Linked DNA regions of Homo sapiens: region 2 is linked to region 1. The links are contacts of gene promoters, found by promoter capture Hi-C in blood cells and fetal thymus (Javierre and others, 2016). All regions are on one chromosome and are shown on one strand. Each heading gives the region's core, a stretch centred on a gene start or on the middle of the fragment in contact. The rest is flanking DNA. Distances are from core to core; before and after follow the strand shown. Region 1 holds the start of USO1 (USO1 vesicle transport factor). Region 2 has its middle 13 kb from the start of ART3.

Region 1 (6,303 bases), core at 2,461-4,960:
TGGCTCACACCTGCAATCCCAGTATTTTGGGAGGCTGAGGCAGGAGAATAGCTTGAGGCCGGGAGTTTGACATCAGTCTGGGTAACATAGCAAGACTTCATCTCTACAAAAAAAAAAAAAAAAAAAAAATTAGCCAGGCATGATGGTGTGCACCTGTAGTCCTAGCTACTCAGGAGGCTGAGGCAGGAAGAGCTCTTGAACCCAGGAGTTCCAGGATGTATGTGCCACCACGCCGAGCTAATTTTGTATTTTTAGTAGACAACGGGGTTTCTCCATGTTGGTCAGGCTGGTCTGGAACTCCCAACTTCAGGTGATCCGTCCACCTCAGCCTCCCAAAGTGCTGGGATTACAGGCGTGAGCCACCTCGCCCAGCCTCAACTAGTCTTTTTTTTTTTTTTTTGGGACAGGGTCTCACTCCATCCTCCCAGCTGGAATGCAGTGGCACAATCATGGCTCAATGCAGCCTTGATCTCCCAGGCTCCAGCGATCCTCCCACACCCTCCCAAGTAAGTGGGACTACTGGCTGGGAATACAGGCGCATGCCACCATGCTCAGCTAATATTTTATTTTTTGTAGAGACAGGGTTTTGCCACATTGCCCAGGCTGGTGTTGAACTCCTGAGCTTAAATGATCCTCCCACCTTGGCCTCCCAAAGTGCTGGGATTATAGCCATGAGCTACGTCTTTAAAAACCTATATACGATACTGAAGGGGCTTATAACCTACCAAAATAATAAATAAATAAAAACCTATATATGATAGATTTCAAATACAAATGATCATTTATATTTATCCTCCCAAGCAGGCATAGACAACATTCCACCTTACTACCACCCCAACTAAAAAACAATCTTATGCAATTATATTTCGTTGTTTTTGCGAGTTTTCCACTAGAAAGTTAAGTGGGCCACTGAAAAAAGCAATTTGAAAAAATGAATTTCAAACCAATGAATTTTGTTCGTTGATCTATTGTCAGGTTTGGTTTAGAAAAAGATCACTCTTAATTTTGATTATATGTATTTTAATGATTCATAGGACTCTTATCCTGAATGCTTAGATTTATGAAAGCCAGAAGTATTAACAGTGCAAGTCAGGCCGTCACAATTTGTTCAAGTTTTCTCTTCCTTTATTAACTCAGGTAGTTCCTGAGCATCTACCATATTAAAGGAATTATACTAGATGATTAAAGGATGCAAACAGGAATACAACACAGTCCCTGACTTTTCTCCCTCTACAAAATCAGTAGAAGTGGATTAATATGTAACTCTTCCTCTGAAATAAGGAGTCTATTTCATGGTTGTTCTGTAGTGACAATGCCTCGGGGATCCCACCTTCATCACCTTTGCACCCAACTGTCCATCACTCCTGTGCAGGGGATGCTGCTGGGGAAGAAAACAGGTCAAATGCAGGGAAAATTCATAGTAAGCTGTTACTACTACACTCACGAAAGTATAGTAACCTACTTTACTCACTGAAGTACAGTAACCTACTGTACCCACCAAAGTTTAAAACAAAACAGGACATTTGACAAGGCTGGTGCCTTTAAACAACTTTGCTAAAATGTCAAGGCACTCTTTTTAATTATTAAATAAGAGGAGTAATAGACATTTGTGGCCCACTCCGTCTATGAGCCTCATTCCTGATGATGGGGTAGAGTGAGTTTCAGGGACAAGGTGAAGTGAGGTTCAGGGAGGGGTGAGGCTTAGGGGCTTAAGTGAAGTTCTTTGCATGCATTTCTTAGTAACAAAAATGCTGAGTAATTTACTGGTTACTTTTTTTAGGCTGCAACAAAATGCTCCCATGGAAAATGTCTACGGTAAAATGTCAAGTGTATAGCTTTAAAGCAGAGGACAATGCTTAGCGCACAGTATTTTTGGCAGTATGACCCCACCATTCTCCAAGTTGCCCAGGCTTAAAATGTTGGCACTAGGAAACACATAGCTTATGATGTCTTCCCTACAATTTCACTTTACAGATTAAAAAAAGGGAACCTCCTCTTAGTATAATATTCATATATTCTTTCAATAATTTATTCATTTATCCATCAATATCACCTTTTATGAGACAGTGGTAAGCAACAGAGATATAAAATGAATAACATAGTCCTGCCCTTAACAGTTTGGTTTAGCAAGCATTTATTCAATGTACACCATATACAGTATCAATAACTGCAAAGTGCTAACATATAGATGTGTACCTACATTTTAGGGAAAGCTTTCAAGAATGATGTCAGAGTTGAGCCTTAAGGAATTAGCAGGAGTTTGCTTGATGAAGAGAAAGGAAGGGAAGGGCATATCCAGGTCTGAGAAAAATGCCCAGAGTATGTGGGGGAGGCAGGAGCTGAAAAAGTAGGCAGGAGCTAAATCATAACAGGCCTGTATGACAAACTAAGGAGTTTGCACTTTATTCTGGACAGAATGGGGAACAACTGGAGGATTTTAAGAGGAATGACATGAACAGATGTTTTGTTGTTGTTAGTCTCACCCAAGGATGGACTGGAGATTGGACTGGAAGGAAGCCAGGGCTGAATGCAGACAAACTAATTAGGAGGCTGTTGCTGTCATCTCAATGAGAAATGATGAGAAGAACATAATCTATGTCACAGGCACAGAGGATGGAGAGCAGAACACCTATTTGAGAAATATTCTATAAATAGAAATGATAGGACATGACTATTGATTGGACATGTGTGGGTGGAAAGCCAGAGTCTAAGATTCTTCCCAGCTTCCTCTGTCTAGCTTAGGCAATTATTTGGACAGTGGTACTACTGAGCACGGCACGCACACAGTAGAAGCAGCATATTGACTTTTTTTCTTTAAGGGAGGCAGGGAAAGATGACGAGTTCAATTTTAAATGCTGAATCTGAGACCTGTGGGGAATCCAAGGGGAGAGGTGCATGAGTCAGTTAGCTAACTAGACCTGTGCTTTTTAGCCTCAAGAAATTTACAAGACTATTCCAGAAGCATGTGTACTGACAACCTCACTGCCAAAGGAACAGGCATACCAATTAGAGAAAATGACAATTTTTCATGTTAAAAAAAAAAAAACTGAAAACACAGGGGTTGAGAGTTAATAACGAAACATTATGTTACTCGCCAAACTGACACAGCAGAACAATGTATTTCTCTAGTAAGCTAAATGTAGGGTTTGATGGGTTTCCTCCTGACGACACTTGAAAATAGAGGTGTACCTGGTGTTTAGATCTAGGAATTCCTTTCAGCAGGTTTGAAGAGCAAGAGCTGAGAAATGCGCCCTCCAGTGGCAGTGGAATGAGGGGTGTCTAGTAACCCTTTTTACCACCAAACAAAGCCCTGTAAAGAAATGCAATTTACCGGGATCAGAAAGCCACAATGCTGGTACCAGTAAACCGTCAAACCAAGCGAACCCTCTCAGGCGCCAGGAAGCCTTACCTGTCACGTTGGCCAAAGGAAAATTTCACTTTCGACTCAACAAAATAAGACCTCAGATTTGATAGCTTGCAGTAAGTCCCGCTTGGCGACGATTAAACACCCTGCAAGTCGAAACGCGTAGTCTAATCAAATCCTCTCCAGCCTGCAGGGCCGGGCTTCCACCACGTGGGTGGCTGCGGCCAGCAGGATCAATCCGCGAAGGGTGGGGGTAGGAGGCGTGCCCCTGCGGTGGGAGGCGGGGTCTGCGCAGTGGGTGGGGCTTCGGCGGAACCTAGCTAAGAGGTTCCTCTCGCCTCCGCTCCCCTTTTGCCTTCAACCTTCGAGCCGCCACGTAATGCCACGTCCCCGCGCATGCGCATCTTGGCCGCTGCTGGCGGCTGTTTCCGGGCTTAGAGGGCTGGAGTGGCCGCCGAGTTGGAGGCGGTGGTGGCAGCAGTAGGAGTGTGTAGAGTGCGGGATTGGGGCCCAGGCCCTGCGGAGGGCGGGGGAAGTTGTCTTCTTTTTTTTCCGGAGGGGCCGGTAAACCTGGTGGCTGAACGGCAAGATGAATTTCCTCCGCGGGGTAATGGGGGGTCAGAGTGCCGGACCCCAGCACACAGAAGCCGAGACGGTGAGAGGAGCAGCGGGTCTGGGACTTGGGAAGGGGTCCGGGCAGGGACGGGGACGGAGCACTCGGAGACCCGAAGGTCACCTCCAGCGTCCCACCATGGAGGGGGCATCCACATGCCGCCTCCCCCTTTGCCCTCCTTCCGCTCCTGAAATCCCAGAGTTATTCAATCACGCCCCCAGCTCAGTCCCCATTGCTGCCGTTCGGCCGGACTGACGGCGGCCGCGCCCCGCAGCTCTGTAGGCCCTGAAGCTCGGGCTAGGAGAGTGGTCCGCAGGTGGTACCGCACGGGAAGGGACGGATGCGCGGCCGAGCTGGCCCGAACTGCCTCCCACGCCCCTCGGGGCCGTGGGCCCCTCCCTCTTTCTCTTTCGCTCGTCTGCACTGGCCGAGAGGAGCCTGAAGTCCTGCTCCCTCCCTCGCAGTCTGAAACTGGGGCGTTGGGGAAAACTGCGAGAAGGTTTAAAACCCAGCTGTTGGTGAGAGCATTTGGCTAAGAATAAAACGATATTCTTTGAAGGACAAATCCACCTGCTCCTGTCCCATCAACTGGAAGAGCGGTCGTTCTGCCTGGTGTTATTTGTTCAGATCCGGCTTTTCGGGCTCACCCAAATATATATCATTTGGCAAATGCTACCTTGAACGTAGTAGGGATCTTAAGCGCTCAAACTGCTTTGGGGACACGTCCACCGCTTTCTGCCTGAACTCCTAATGACATGATTTGCGGCGTTATTTAAAAAAAAAAAAAAATGGTTAGCCGCTGAAAACATTATTTAATAGTTGCTTAGATTCTAGGTTTAGAATACACTTATTTTGAAGTTTGGTTAGTGTTTAATGGAATCGAGGGTGTATGCCTTTTTGAAATAAACTTTTTATTTGAGAAGAATTTTAGATCTACATAAAAGAGACTAAGTATAACACTTTAATGGCTAACTTTGTTAATGGGATCCTGAGGGATAATATAGTAGCTTTCATTTGTCAGGCTCTTACCTTGTGCTAGGTTCTGTGCTGAGCTCTTTATATTCCACATTATGCTTTAATCGTTAACTACCCTGCAAGATAGGTGAGAGTATTCTCACCTTAAAAGTCAAAAAATGAGACTGAGAGGGGTGAAGTAGGCCGGACGCGGTGGCTCACGCCTCTAATCCCAGCACTTTGGGAGGCTGAGGCCGGCGGATCACCTGAGGTCGGGAGTTCGAGACCAGCCTGACCAACATGGAGAAACCCCGTCTCTACTAAAAATACAGAATTAGCCGGCCGTGGTGGCACATGCCTGTAATCCCAGCCACTCGGAAGGCTGAGGCAGGAGAATCGCTTGAACTCGGGAGGCGGAGGTTACGGTGAGCAGAGATCGTGCCATTGCACTCTAGCCTGGGCAACAAGAGCGAAACTCTGTCTCAAAAAAAAAAAAAAAAAAAAGGGGTGAAGTAACTTGACCAATGTCACACTGCTAATAATAGAGCCAGGATTCAACCAAGAGGTACCTTACTTCAAAGCCTTCACTTTATTGCTCATGCCTGTATTTCAATACTTTTTGGGAACTTTATATAGTATTACTAAAATTAACTGCAGCTAGTCGCAGTGACACAGGCCTATAATCCCAGCTAAGGGGATGCTAAGCCAGGAGGATCGCTTGAGCCCAGGAGTTTGAGACTAGCCTGGGCAGCATGAAGAGACTCCATCTCAAAAAAAAAAAAAATAACTGCGCAGGTCTGGTTAGAATTGTTTAAAGCATAAGATGAAAGCCGGTAAATCTGTTTCTTTCATTTGAAAATCACTTTTCTGTCTCTCACTGTAACACACGCACACATTTGGCTTCACTCATCCATTCCCACTTGGCAACAAGGCAGCCTGAGCTACCCTACTAGAAGATCATGTTCTGTCTAGATTACCAGAGTCATACCATAATCACAGCCCACCACTTTTTTGTCTGATATTTGTGTTTGTGGCACCAGGTTATGAAATATGGTTTATTACAGCTTGCTTTGTGGAGTTAGACTTTGATTTGAATCCTGGCTTTCCACCCCTGATTGGATTGGATATGTAAGAGATAGCTAATACCCTCTAAGTAAAATGAGGAAAATGCCTGCTTTTTAGGATGTAATGAAGATTAAGTGAAATAAGTAGAAAGAGCCTGGCACTTAGTAGATGTATAATGAGAGGTAATTTTTACTATGTGTGGGTTGAACGAAGAATACCCTTTCCTGTTTTTGTTATTATTGGCCTTGTCACAGTGACTTCTGTAGAAAAGATGGAATAGAATTCACAGTGTATAGGATTTTAAAGC
Region 2 (6,303 bases), core at 2,771-5,270, 340 kb after region 1:
TCTTTGCTGCAGAAGCAGCTTGTTTTTCATTCCATAGGGTATTTTTTTTTCTGTGCATTGAATTAAAATTTGTAAACAGCAGGAATTGTGGCTTGTTAAAAGAAAAACCTTAGACAAATTAAATTTAGCAGAGCTTAATTGAGCAAAGAATGATTTGTGAATTGGGTAGCCCCTCAACCAGAATAGAGAGGTTCCAGAGCTCTGTGTGGTGAAAGAAGATTATGGATAGAAAAAGGAAAGTGACGTAGAGAAAATGGAAGTGAGGTACGGAAACAGCTGGATTGATTACAGCTTGAAGTTTGCCTTATCTGAGCATAGGTTGAACAGCTGGCTGTCCTTGATTGGCTGAAACTTGGTGATTGGCACAAGAGTAGATTACAGTCTGTTTACACATCCAGTTAGGTTACAGTTCACTGTGTATGAAGAAACCTTTAGGTTATAGTTCACAATGTATGGAGAAACCTTTAGGTTATAGTTCACAATGTATGGAGAAACCTTTAGACTGAACTTAAAATATGTAAAGAGACAGCTTTAGGCTAAACTTAATTTAACAGACTTTTTGGTTGCCTTTGGATTGGTGGGGCAGGGGAAGAATCTAATAGCAGATATTTGCTTTGCAAGGTCCAAAGATCAATTTTGTTTTCTTGCTGTCTTCTCGTTATTTTCTCTTGTTTTTTTTTCTTTTTTTTTTCCTGAGCTTTATTTGCATCTCCAGTCCTTTTCTCTATCCTTACTTTTTAATTGACTATAATATGGAATTGAATTTTTTAAAAAATCTGTTAAATTTATTTTTAAAAGTTTATTTCTTGGTCTTGCATTTAAAAGGCTGTGAATTGAACCTTTCTTCTTTAACTAAAAAAAACTGTAATTAAGTGGCTTTTTTCTTAAATATGTTCTCAACTAATTTTCCTCCTTGTAGGTAGCTTAAAGGAAAAAGAAATGTCCTTTCAGTACTCTCATTACATATTCAGGCAATCCCAATTTGTATGGACAACTAAATTAAAGTAACAAGTGACTCTGACAATTTAGAGAAATGAATTAGTAAAGTTTAGTAGCATTAAGCACAGGAGGATTTACTTAAGAGAAAAAGCAGGCAAACTTTATAAACACAAGTTGGAGAACTATCAAGTTTGTACATGTCTCACAGAGATGAAGAATACAGAATAAACCACTGGCCAAATATAAGTTAGATATGTAACACTAACACATAGAATTAGCAAAGAGGATGTTGTGGGTTTATATGGAAGAAATCTGTTTGTGAGTCACTGGTTAGGAAATCAGAACCTACTTTCCTATAGATGTCAAATGGTAAGGGTGATTGTTCAGTCTGAGAGGTCCCTCCAGGGCAAGGAACCTTGTCTAATTTATCTTCCATCTCATCCTGTTGCCTTGCATGGAGTCAGGTCTTAAAAAACTCATTTCCGTAGTTCCTGGTTTATAAAGTCTAATTAACATGTAAGATACCCCAAATTCAAGCCTTTGTCCTATTTTCTTCTTAACCTACTGATGTCAGATGTTTTTCTATTTTGGAACATAATACTGTTGTAGAATATTGTGGAATCATAAGTTACTGATTAAGTTACTGATATCATAAGTACATTGGTAATATATAACCAAGCCCAAAGAACCCTTATTTCATATCAGTTTGATTTATTTTGGCTGTGACAATCAACTGTTTTCTCTCTCATGAAAATCTCTTTTCTTGAGGCTTCTTATTCTCCTTCTCAATCTCCTTCTTGAAATCTTGTCTCTCTCTGCACCTAAATGCTAGTGTTCTCTAGGGTATTATGCTCTCTATCTGCAAGCCTACACACCTATTGGCTAACATGGTAGGCAGAATAATTATTCCCCAAAGATTTCCATGCCCTAATTCCTGGAATCTGTGAATATGTTATATTACATGGCAAAAGGAACACTGGACTTATATTATGGACCTCAAAATACATATATACATTGGGTGGACCCACTGTAATAACATGGGCACTTAAAAGAGGAAGAGGAAGACAGAGCAGTCAGTTAGAGAGATGCAGTGGAAGAGGCAGGAGGTATTTGATTATGAGAGATTCCACTTGCTGTTATTGGCTTTGAAGATGGAGAAAGTGGACCACAAACCAAGGAATGTGGGTGGCCTCTGGAGTCTGTGAATAGCCCTCAGCTGACAGTCAACAAGGAAACACAGGTCTCAATCTTAAGTCTTCAAGAAACTGCATTCTGCTAACAACCCGAATGAGCAAAGAAATTGATTCTCTTTTAGACTCTCAGAAAGTAACTTAGCCCTGCCAACACTTTGATTTTAGCCTACAGAGATCTATGTTAGGCTTCTGATCTAGGAACTTTAAGATAAGAAATGTGTATTATTTTAAGCCACTAAGTCATGATAGTTTGCACAGCAACAGTAACAAACTATTGCAGCTAATGACTCTCAAATTTAAATGACTATCTCAGATCTTTCTCTGAACTAGTCAGTTGCCTATTGGATAGCTTCTCTACAGTATCTGGCTGGAACCTCAAACTCATTACATTGAGATAAAACTCTTTTCCCTAAAACCTGCTCATATTTTTTATCTTGATGTTGCTCCTAACCATTCAGACTCCTTAGCCAGAAATCTGGGGGTCAGTTTAAACTCCTTTTCTCAAAATACACTATTTCTCTACACATCCCTATGCTATATAATTGATACCAAATCATTTTGATTTGGGGTTTATTACCACTGATTTAGGTCAAGCTCCCACCACTTCTCACTTGGATTTCTCAGGTAATCTCCCAACACATCTTCCTGCCTCTTGTTAAAATGTCTTGGTAATTTATTCTTCTGTTCTATGAAAGTGACCTTTTCAATCAGATTATGTTTCTCCTCTACTTCATGGTTTCCCATTGCCATTTCAGTCAAGTTCCAATTTCTAAGCATTACACACAAGGCGCTCTTTATGATCTGATTCCTCTTTCCTCCCCAACTTTTTAACTCTTTGTGTTCCATAAAACATATCATGCTGTCCAGCTGTATTAAATGGCTTGCATTTTCTTGAACATGTGCTATGTATGCCATCAGTGCCTTGTACATACTTTTTTATCTGACTGGAAGGCCCTCCTTTCTTTGTTTCCCTAACTCCTACTTCTTTAGTCTTCAACTGAATTGTCACTTTAGTTAGGGGCTCAGTAAATGTTGGTTTAAAGAGTAAATGAGAAGAATGCCAAAGAATAAGAATTGTGAACCACTGAAGTGGATTTTTACACGAATTTCTAGAGTCCCTTTCCCTAAAGGACAATTTTAGATGGCAATGTTTCTGGAATAGTTTGAGGGTAGCCTTTTGTTAGTTTTATGTAAATGCTAAGAAGAGAGCATTTGAGTTTGGTATTTGGAGTAGGAATAGACAGGAACTCACTAAAGAGTTACTTCAGAAGAGAAAGTCATTATGGATGATGGTCTCGTATAAGAAAGCTACCAGACCTACTCATGTAATCATCCACTGTTCTTATCTGCAAGAGGGATTACCCCTTTTAGTTTTGCTTCCTATTTTTTAAAAGCTAAGATATCCTGTTCCAGAGAGAGTAAGCTTACATTAAAAAGCATTAAGTATCTTTAGTTTTCTTTTAAATTTGACTTATGTTCTAATGATTGTTACTTCATGGGGGTTTCCAACCTTGGGAAAAAAGTTAATAACTATTTTTTTAGGTTTATTATGAGAACTATACAGTTTAGTCAATATAAAATATACAGTGCCTTGTGTGTAATTAAGTAGTTAATAAAGGCTAGCTATTAGTTGTTATAAATTATCGTTATTGCTAAGCATTTAAAAATGATCCACCATTTTGCAGAGATTTAAACATCTCAGAGCATCTCATCCTTATGTGAAAGAAAAATAAATCTTTTTTTTTTTTTTTTTTTGAGACAGAGTCTCGCTCTGTTGCCCAGACTGGAGTGCAGTGGTGGGATCTCGGCTCACGGCAAGCTCCGCCTCTCGGGTTCACGCCATTCTTCTGCCTCAGCCTCCCGAGTAGCTGGGACTACAGGTGCCTGCCACCATGCCTGGCTAATTTTTTGTATTTTTAGTAGAGATGGGGTTTCATTGTGTTAGCCAGGATGGTCTTGATCTCCTGACCTCGTGATCCGCCCACCTCAGCCTCCCAAAGTGCTGGGATTACAAGTGTGAGCCACCGAGCCCGGCCCCAAGTCACATTTCAAATGCTCAGTAGCTACATGTGGTGGCTAGTGGCCATTGAACAATACACTTCTAGCTATTCTCTCTGTAAGGAATGCTTTCCTACAGCTAATCACTTGTTTAAGTCCCTTACCTCCTTCAGGTTTTTGCTAAATTTCACTCTCTCAGTGAGGCCTACCTTGACCACTCTATTTAATACTATAGTGTGCCCCAACTCCCCACACTTCACACTTCTTCATTCTTTATCTCTTTCACTGCGTAATTACTAATTTATTATTTTCATTGTTTATTGCCTGCCTTCTTTTTCTCTACTACTTCATGGACGGAAGCTTCCTGGAGGCAGGGATTTTTATTTTGTTCACTGACAACATCCCAACACCTAGAATAGTGCTTGGCCTATAGTAGGTGCTCAGTAAACATTTGTAGATTAAATGTAATGAAGGAATGAGTCATTGCAAAAACTTGTTACAATTATAAATAAGCATATACTAGATTCAAGACATAATTCAGGAAGAGTTAAAAGCATTGCTGACCAAATCTCTCTTAACTAGGTCTTGAATATATTCTCTGTACCTTATACCATTTTAAGCTGGGAGTAATGGGGAGAGAAATGAGGAGTTTAAAATGAGATTAAAAGAAGCTTATAATCTGTAGTTAGGAAGACAAGATTCACAAAAAGAAACTAGGAAAAAATCCTGAATTTTGTTGAAAAAATTAGAAAATGGACTTACAATAAGGTCTCTCCGGTTGTGCCATATATATTCCTTTGATGAGAATTTCCCAATAGGTATTTAAGTAGTCATGTATTTATATATCATTATTTGACAGAGACTCGGAGAACATAAAAACAAGAAAGCTAAAAGTAATATAAAGCCTGCACTTGAAAATTAGTTTAAAACAATGATAGTGAAAAATAGAATAATTTTGGCACTAAACATTGAATTTATACAAATCTTTTAGAGTTTCATGTATTATACAAAGTTCTGAGGAAAAATTATTTTGAACCTAGAATTATATACTAGCCAACTGTTCATCAGATTCACATTTCAAAAATGAAAGCACTGAAAATGTTTATCTTCCATGCATCCTTTTTAAGGAAATAATTTCAGAATATATTCCTACAAAACAAAGATAAATATGAAGCAAAAAGCTGTAGATGCAGTAGCATGAGACAAAAAATAAATTAAAAAAATAAAACCACTGTAGAGTACAAGAAATGGAAAAAGTACCCAGGGATTCAATTGAAAGATTTTCTAGTCTCCTAGTTGTTGGCCTGGAGAGCAGTTTGTCCAGGTTAGAACTGGTCTTCAAGAATAAGAACAAAATGGATTCCAAGCAATAGAATTGGAAATAGAAGCACATTAGGTACACGATGGAGACAAATACTACTTTTCCCAACAACCACCATGATCACCACTACCATCACCACCAAAAAAGGCACTCAGAAACTAAAGGAAAAATAAAAAATTTTAGTGATCTAAATACAAAAGAGACAAAAGTGAGGCATGATTTTAAGGGATTAGTGGAGTATGGGAAAGGAATATTCATTTGATCTTGACATAAAAATGTTTTGTTTTGAGTGTGAATAGTGATCATGACATTGAAACAGCAGAGATGGAAATAAAATCCTAACTTGTGTCTTGTCTTTATACTAAAGAATATATAGCTGGTTGCAATAAACTTGCAGTAAACTATACTTTTGATTTTTAATTTTAGAATAGACCTTTACTTAAAGCATGGCTACAGAACAAAAAGCAAATGTTATTACATTTTGACAACATAAAGATAAAAGAACTACTGATGGAAGCTGGGAGGTGAAAGGCAGAAAGGAGGTGAAGGGAAGGGTAACAGTGCTAACGTCCTCTTATTACAAAATGAGTACCAAAAAGAGAATATTGAAAGTGGATGCTTTAAAATATACTAACAATATTGCTTCAATTATCAGTGTTGGTAGAAAGATGGGAGTTGGAATATTGAGTAAATTTTTTTTTTTTTTTGAGACAGGGTCTCACTCTGTCACCCAGGCTGGAGTGCGGTGGCAAGATCATGGGTCACAGCAACCTCCACCTTCCAGGTTCAAGCGATTCTCCTGCCTCAGCGTCCTGAGTAGCTGGGATTACAGGCACCTGCCACCATGCCTGG

Evidence for each region. Contacts are between HindIII fragments. The CHiCAGO score rates a contact against its expected background, and 5 or more counts as called.
Region 2: a contact is called between a fragment that was not itself captured here and the fragment with the promoter of USO1 in region 1, in 1 of 17 cell types (naive B cells). The highest score is 5.1, in naive B cells.

Annotation. Positions count from the first base shown.
Region 1 is chr4:75,720,867-75,727,169 of GRCh38, forward strand. It overlaps USO1 (USO1 vesicle transport factor), which reads left to right and starts at 3,711. Exons shown (of 24, transcript NM_003715.4): 1 at 3,711-4,019. The coding sequence starts at 3,954. It also overlaps a transcript of G3BP2 not described here. RefSeq lists enhancers at 2,901-3,821, 3,822-4,741, 3,838-3,917 and silencers at 3,498-3,667, 4,002-4,179. The HindIII fragment of the contact is 5,085 bases long and covers 2,212-6,303 here.
Region 2 is chr4:76,058,692-76,064,994 of GRCh38, forward strand. It overlaps a transcript of ART3 not described here. Among named protein-coding and RNA genes, the nearest start is that of ART3, 13 kb to the right of the region's middle. The HindIII fragment of the contact is 935 bases long and covers 3,554-4,488 here.